2 separate regions of the Homo sapiens genome follow, and region 1 is linked to region 2. Evidence: promoter capture Hi-C in 16 types of primary human blood cells and fetal thymus (Javierre and others, 2016). All regions are on one chromosome and are shown on one strand. The core of a region is centred on a gene start or on the middle of the fragment in contact, and the rest is flanking DNA. Distances in the headings are between cores, read along the strand shown.

What was found. The method cuts DNA at HindIII sites, captures the fragments that hold promoters and counts their contacts. A CHiCAGO score of 5 or more calls a contact.
Region 1: the fragment with the promoter of UPK1A here is called in contact with the fragment with the promoter of ATP4A in region 2 in 3 of 17 cell types (erythroblasts, megakaryocytes and M1 macrophages); the score reaches 6.0 in erythroblasts.

The regions. Positions count from the first base shown.
Region 1 is chr19:35,664,068-35,667,947 of GRCh38, forward strand. UPK1A (uroplakin 1A) reads left to right here and starts at 2,450. Exons shown (of 8, transcript NM_007000.4): 1 at 2,450-2,471; 2 at 2,742-2,829. The coding sequence starts at 2,746. The HindIII fragment of the contact is 14,723 bases long and covers 1-3,880 here.
Region 2 is chr19:35,561,477-35,565,601 of GRCh38, forward strand. It overlaps ATP4A (ATPase H+/K+ transporting subunit alpha), which reads right to left and starts at 2,182. Exons shown (of 22, transcript NM_000704.3): 1 at 2,142-2,182; 2 at 1,908-2,051; 3 at 1,733-1,792; 4 at 959-1,162. The coding sequence starts at 2,153. RefSeq lists an enhancer at 3,337-3,838. The HindIII fragment of the contact is 9,853 bases long and covers 1-4,125 here.

The DNA.
Region 1 (3,880 bases), core at 1,200-3,699, 100 kb after region 2:
GAATATTTTGGAGTTTTTCAAAGCCTTCTCATTCCCCAGCTTTATCTTTTAAACTGTTTCATTAGCCTATTATTGGCCTCAACTGTTATTCATTGCTTAGGCAGCTGCCTAGTTAAACAATTGCATGCAATTGTGTTTCACAAATGCCCCTGGGGAAATAATTTTGACGATGTATGAGCTCTAAGTTAGGTCAAATACAGACAACATTGCAAGTAGGGGCTTCCAGGGAACCATAAGACGAATCAAATAATTCTGACTTTCTGGGAGTGAGGCTTTTATGGAGTTTCATCCTCTTCTGCCCCGTTTGGTGTATGCCAGGCTGCTAGTTTCCACTGAGAATGCTGGCAGTTAATATTCAAGGCTACCATGGAGCTGGAATGGGGGAATGGAACTAGGCCAATTAAAAATGTCACAAAGTATAAAAATTAGCCGGGCGTGGTGGCGGGCGCCTGTAATCCTAGCTACTCGGGAGGCTGAGGCAGGAGAATTGCTTGAACCTGGGAGGCAGAGGTTGCAGTGAACTGAGATCGTGCCACTGCATTCCAGCCTGGGCGACAGTGAGACTCTGTCTCAAGAAAACAAAAATAAAAATAAATTTTAAAAAAGTCATAAAGTTCACTGCTCTTACTAAGATTCAGCTGCTTTTCTTGAATAAACACTTTACAGATTTTTGTTGTTGTTGTGGAGACAGAGTCTCACTCTGTCACCCAGGCTGGAGAGCAATGGCACGACCTCAGCTCACTGCAACCTCTGCCTTCGAGGTTCAAGCGATTAGCTCCTGCCTCAGCCTCCTGAGTAGCTGGGATTACAGGCACTTGCCACCACGACTGGCTAATTTTGTATTTTTAGTAGAGATAGGGTTTCACCATGTTAGTCAGCCTGACCTCAGGTGATCCCCCCACCCTGGCCTCCCAAAGTGCTGGGATTACAGGCGTGAGCCACCACGACTGGCCAAAAAAACTATTTTAAAATCTAAAGTGGGTTGACTAAAACCAAATTAACCATTTTAATCGGAAAACATCTCATGTATCTTATTACCAAACCAGTGCCTTGACGATGGGATTTTCAGTGTCATTTGCCAAATTCGCAGGCACCGCAGTGGGGAGCCACTGCTCCCACAGCAGAGGCAATACACGGCCTAGCCTTGGGGTTGAGAAGTTCTGGGGACGGTGTCGGGGGCCCTGGGCCACCATTTTTGCATGGAGCCAGCCCTGCGCTGCGAGGGCGTGGCATCGGAGAGACCGTGGCCTCGTGGGCAGCATCGGCGGCCCCTGGGGACACGCGCTGGCTCAGTCCCCACCTCCGCCAGGGAAGCGGTCTGATGATACCCATTTCGCAGATGGGCAAATCCACAAGCCAAGTCGTGCCGCCCAGAAGAGGCAGAACCGGGATTTGAACCTAGGTTTCTCATTCTGCACCTGAAGAAATAAATGTCTGGTCCATGCGTGTGTTGGGGGGCGACGGGGACTTTTCTTCAACCAAGCCCGGTGTGCCCCCTCTCATTTTCTAGCACGTTCTTCTCCCCCATCTTTGCACTTATCTCAGACTCCCCTCACACACCTATCCTGGGTGCCATCCTTTCCCTCAGCCCACCGCCCATGTAGTCAGCCTCCTAAGCGCCCCTTCCACCTGTCCCCTCATCTCCCCACTGCTCTGCCTCGGTCCAGCCCTGGCCTTGGCAGGGGTCCCTGCCTGGGCCTCCCCACGGGCTCCCGGCCTCACAGAGGAGCAGCCACCTGTGCAAGGTCACACAGCAGGAGAGACACTTCTGGGATTCAGGACCCACCTGTGGGTCCGAAGTGGATTTTTTGTTTGTTTGGTTTTGGAGACAGGGCCTGGCTCTGTCACTCAAGCTGGAGTGCAATGGCACGATCTTGGCTCACTGCAACCTCTGTCCCCAGGTTCAGCCATCCTCCCACCTCAGCCTCCCAAGTAGCTGGGACCACAGGCATGAGCCTGGCTAATTATTTTTGTATTTTTTATAGAAACGGGGTTTCACTATGTCACCCAGTCTGGTCTCAAACTACTGAGCTCAAGCGATCCGCCTACCTCAGTTTCCCAAAGTGCTGGGATTACAGGCCTGAGCTACCACGCCCCGCCCTGATTTGGATCTTGCTCCTATTCCCAGGAAGGCCCATGTCCTAGCAAGAGAGACACCAGGTGGTGCGCACGCCCCTCCACCTCCAACTCCTCCACCGCCAACAAAGCCTGGGACCCAGAGGCCATGGGTCCTACACAATCTGGTATTTCAGGTCTATAAATCATGGGGGTGGCAGGGAGCCCATCAAAGCTGTTCATCCAGCCTGGTCTGCCGGCTCAGCCTCTTGTCCACCCCACTGCCGTGCCCCAAAACACACACACACACACACACACCCTCCCTCCTTCCTGGGAGACTAGCCCAAGGAGGGGCCTGGGCGTATATAGGGAGCCACGGTGGGTGGGGCTGGCCAGAGAGGCTGCAGACAGAGAAGGTGAGGAGGGGGCCCTGGGAGTCTGGGTATGGCATGAGGGGTCTGAGGCTCAGGGAGGGGCAGTGCCAAGTTCAGGCCAGTGACTGCCCCACCGGAGCCCGGGTGTCCTCTTGTGCAAAATGCCTCCCCACCAGGGCTGTGGGTACATCAGTACCAGCCTGGGCCCCGCAGAGAGCTGGAGCAACCCCTCGAAGCCAGGGTGTGGCTCAGAGATGGGGGGTCCGGCTGGCCCTTTACGCTCCTGGCCTCATCCCTGCTCATGTGTCCCAGGATGATGGCGTCTGCGGCAGCAGCGGAGGCCGAGAAGGGATCTCCAGTTGTGGTGGGCCTGCTAGTTGTGGGCAATATCATTATTCTGGTGAGACTCGCCCCAGTGCTGGGAGCCGAGTGGTTGTGTGGTGGGGAGGGGACAGTCCTGAGCTCGGGGTGGGGGATGAGGGTCCAGAACTGTCTCTCGGGCAGACTCAGTGGTCAGCACAGCCTGGGTTGAAATCCCAGCTCTGCCTCTCCCCAGCTCTGTGACCTTAGCAAGCGACTGTCCCTCTCTGTGCCTTCTTTCCTCATCTATAGACTGTGTCCTCATTGTGTGGGCTGTTGTCATGTGGATTAATCCATGTGTGGCCCTCAGCTCAGAGAAAGTGCCCGACCAATGCTGGCTATCACCATCAGCATCACTATGGATATAAAGTGACAGCCTGGTGCACAGGAGGCCACAAGAAGGAAAAACAACAGTGTCTTTCAATTAACATTGGGTTTTGGTTTTGTGTTTTTTGTTTTGTTTTGTTTTGTTTTGTTTTGTTTTGTTTTGTTTTTGAGACGGAGTCTCACTCTGTTGCCCAGGCTGGAGTGCAGTGGCTGATCTCAGCTAACTGCAACCTCTAACTCCCGGGCTCAAGTGATTCTCCTGCCTCAGCCTCCAGAATAGCTGGGATTACAGGCGCACACCACCACGCCCGGCTAATTTTTTTTTTTTCAGACAGATTCTCCCTTTGTCACCCAGGCTGAAGTGCAGTGGCGAGATCTCGGCTCACTGCATCCTCCACCTCCTGGGCTCCAGCAATTCTCCTGCCTCAGCTTCCCGAGCAGCTGGGATTACAGGCACATGCTACCACACCCGGCTACTTTTTGTATTTTTAGAAGAGATGGGGTTTCACCATGTTGGCCAGGCTGGTCTTGAACTCCTGACCTGAGGTGATCTGCCCACCTCAGCCTCCCAAAGTGTTGGGATTACAGGTGTAAGCCACCGCGACTGGCCGTGTGTTTGTTTTAGAGACAGGGTCTCACTCTGTTGACCAGGCTGCAGTGCAGTGGTGTGATGCTTGCTCACTGCAGCCTCCAACTCCTGGGCTCAACTGATCCTCCTGCCTCAGCCTCCCAAGTAGCTGGGACTACAGGTGCACATCACCACA
Region 2 (4,125 bases), core at 932-3,431:
GCCACGGCCCCCATGTTCTAGCTCCCCAGTCACTGTGTCCCGTGTCTCCCATGTCTGTGTATCTCCGAGTTCCCATCCTGTGTCCCATGGCCATGACTTTTCGAGCCTCTGTCCCATGTCACATGTCCCTGAGTCCCCATGTCCCTTGCCCTCATCTCTGCCATATGTCCAATGTCCCTTGCCCTGCACCTCCATTTCCTCTCTGTCTCTGTGCTTCTATGTCTCATGTTTTGTGTCTCTCTATGTGCTGTGTCCTGAGGCTTGGGTCCCTGCCCTGGTGTCCTATGTCTGAGTCCCAGGGTCTCCTATTCCCCGTGCCTCAGTCTGTCCTGTGTCTGCACTGCATGTCCTCTGCTTCCAAGTCCCATCTCTTTTTTTTTTTTTTTTTTTTTTTTTTAAGATGCAGTCTCGCTCTGTCGCCCAGGCTGGAGTGCAGTGGCATGGTCTTGGCTCACTGCAACATCCACCTCCTGGGTTCAAATGATTCTCCTGCCTCAGCCTCCCAAGTAACTGGGATTACAGGTGCCCGCCACCATGTCTGGCTAATTTTTGTAATTTTAGTAGAGATGGGGTTTTGCCATGTTGGCCAGGCTGGTCTCGAACTCCTGACCTCAGGTGATCTGCCCGCCTCGGCCTCCCAAAGTGCTGGGATTACAGGCATGGGATTACACGCCCGGCCTCCAAATCCCATCTCTTACGTATCACATTGCCATACTCTTTATGCCCCCACCTATGTCCCCATACCCAAGATTCACCCCAGTGTCCCTGTGTCCTGTGTCCTTGGGTCTGCCCCATCCATATCCCAATGTCCTTCACCCTCCATGACCCCTGTCTTGAGACTGCCTTTCGTGTTCGTCTATCCCCATCCTTCTCTGCCCCTCTTGTCCCAAGTCCCAGGCTCAGTGTCTTCCATCCCCAGGTCCCCATGTCCTGAGCCTGTCCCCACAACATGGCTCACATTGTCGTCGGTGGTGAGGTCCCCCTCACTAGCCTGGATGGCAAAGGCGATGAGGCAGATGGCGGCGGCAACCCACATGAGGCACTGCAGGCCCCCGGCCAGCTGCCTCGCGAACTTGACGTACTCTGGGGTGCCCCGTGGTGGCCGCAGTGCGTTGGGCCCATCCCGCAGCAGCAGCTCAGCAGCCAGGCTCGCAGAGAGGCCCTGGGACAGAGGGGCAGGGCGAGGCGGTCCTGGGGGCTTTCCTCCACATGCACACCCCGTGGAAAGCCCCCTGCTTCAGTTTCCCTTCTCCAGCTTGGTCTGTCCTGCTCCTTCTCATCTCTTTGTCTCTTGGTTCCTGCCCCCACCCCATCTCTCCCTCCCTCCTTCATCTCTCCCTTTGTCTCTCTCTCCTCGCTCCCCTTTCTATGTGTCTCTCTCCTGCTGCTCTCTCCTTATTTGTCTCTGCCTTCTCTGTCTTGCTGTCTCTTTTCAGCTACTCCTCTCTCCGTCTCTGTGTGTCACCCTTTCTCTCTAATGCTTTCTCCCTTCTCTCCCTCTCCCTCTCTCTCCCTCTCTCCATCTCCCTCCCTCTCTCCTCCCCTCCCTCCATCCTTTCCTCTCTCCCTCCCTCCCTCTTTCCTTTTCTGCCTCCCTCCCTCTCTCTATTTCTCCATATCTTCCTCTCTTCATCTCTCCCTCTCTCTCCCTCTCTCCATCTCCCTCCTTCCATCTCCCTCTCCCTCCCTCTCTCCTCCTCCCCTTTCTGTACGCTCCCAGTCTCCAGCTCACCTTGGTGGCACTGGTCTGGTATTTCTGTTCCAGCTCCGCCACTGACAGCTGGTGGTCGTTCTGTGTGGTGGGGTGGGGCAGGGTGCTTGCTCTGGGCTCTCCTGGCCCCCTCCCCGCCCACTGCCTGGTTCCCAGCCTACCCTCCAGCTCCCGCCCCTCCCCAGTCAGAGCTCACAATCTCCATCTCCTTCTTCATGTTCTCCAGCTTCTCCTTCCTCTTGCCACCCCCGCCACCCGCCTTCTTCTTCTTGCTCATCTTGGCAGCCATGTCCCCGCCAGGGCCAGGACCCAGCTCCACCGAGTAGAGCTCATAGTTCTCCTGGGAATGGACAGGATGGAGGGAGGGAGAACTCAGATTCCACTGCAACCCCTGTCCCCACTGCACCCCGGACCCCTGGGCCCCACTCACGGCCTTCCCCATGGTGCCCGGTGCCTGTGCTCCCACCCAACAGAGCCTGGGCCCGGACCAGTCCTGATATACCCAGGGAGGGCGGTGGGGTGGAGCAGAACCGCCCGACCACAGCTGATTACAGGCTCCTTGGGGTGACCTCTAGGCCTGGGCACCTCAGGCATTCCCTCCTGGGCTGGCCCCCCCCTCCCCTGCCCAGATCCCCCCATGTCAACCTGCCCTGAGATCAGGGAGCCCCTGGGAACCGCTGCAGCAACAAGAAGAGCAAACATAAGGTGCTCATTATGCGCTGGGCATTGTGCTGACGGCTTCCATGTGCTAACTTATTTAACCTTCCAATAACCCTTTGAGGGGACAAGACCCTTTACAGATGGGGAAACTGAGGCATGGAGGGGTTGAGTCATTCTCCTATGGCTCCATCACAGGCTAGGACATAATGGAGTGAGAACCAGATCAGCTGGCTGCAGAGTGTCCTCTTTCAGTCTAAATAGCACGTGCCTGATCAACTGGAAGAGGAGGGTGCTCCCACACTCTTTTTTTTTTTCTTTTTTTTTTTGAGATGGAGTGTCACTCTGACACCCAGGTTGGAGTGCAGTGGTGCAATCTCAGCTCGCTGCAACCTCCGCCTCCCGGGTTCAAGTGATTCTCCTGCCTCAGCCTCTTGAGTAGCTGGGACTACAGGCACATGCCACCACACCCAGCTAATTTTTGTACTTTTAGTAGAGACGGGGTTTCACCAGGTTGGCCAGGCTGGTCTCGAACTCCTGACCTCAGGTGATCCACCCGCCTTGGCCTCCCAAAGTGCTGGGATTACAGGCGTGAGCCACCATGCCCTGCCATGCTTACAACACTCTCTATGGTGGCTGAATGTTTACTGAACTCTGACTATTCACTATGGGCTGGGTGTGCTCTGTGTGTCACTCAAATGGTTTCCTTAGCATCTAACAGCAGCCCTGTAAAGCAATATTCTCTTCTTAGCCCCCATCAGGGACTTTGCAGAAGATTTCAACGTCTAAGAATTAGGGACAGGGTTCCAGCCCGGGCTTGACCCCAGGGCTTGACCCCAGAGCCTAGCTCTTCTATGGCACCACCAATGGAAAAACCCAAACTTCACTGCAGCAGCACCACACACATGCCAGGCTCTGCACGTGTGACCTCACGGGTCTTTGCAAAAAACCCTGTGCAGGCAGAACTATCATTCCTGTTGTGCAGAGGGGGAAACTGAGGCTCACAGGGACTCACATATCCAGCTACAGACTTTACAGCTCTCAACCATTCCCCGTCCCTACCCTAGATGGGGAAACCAAGGTGCAACATGGGGAAAGGATGTGTCCAAGGGTCTTGGCTTGATCTTGGTGTTGGGTGACAGATGCCAGGAGGCCTGGGGACTCCCTCCTCATCCCTCAGGTAGGGACCTCCATGGGCAGCAGCAGCGAGGGGCTGGGCCAGTGGAATGGTGGGGACCTTGGTATGTTATGGGGTGAGCGTGTCTCCAGGAGCAGGTGAGCGTGCGCCTGATAAGATAACTGCCCTGGCAATGTCCTTCTCTACTGGGGCAGGTCACCTGGGAAACTCAAAGCTGTTGGGCAGCCAGAGCTCCTCCCCGCACCCACACGGCTGGTCATCCCCAGCCTGCTAGAAGAAACCTCCAAAGAAGAGGTGGCGTGGGGCCACATGCTGTCCTTGTAGTGAATCTACTCGCTCACTGGGCTCCCATCAGCTCTGAGCCATGTATGTCAAACAGCTTGTGTCACCCCCTGCTTACAACCCTCCAAAGCCTTCCCTTCCCACTCAGAATAAACTCTGCACTCCTTCCTGCAACATCTGGCCCTGGTCACCTGTCCTGCCTCTGTTGCTGCTAGGTTTCCAGGGGCACTGACCTCTCTGCTGCACTTTGCACAGACCAAGGTCGTTCCTGCTTCAGGACCTTGGTACTTACAGTTCCTTCTGCCTGGGCCCCCTTCCTTAGATGTCTGCACTGGCT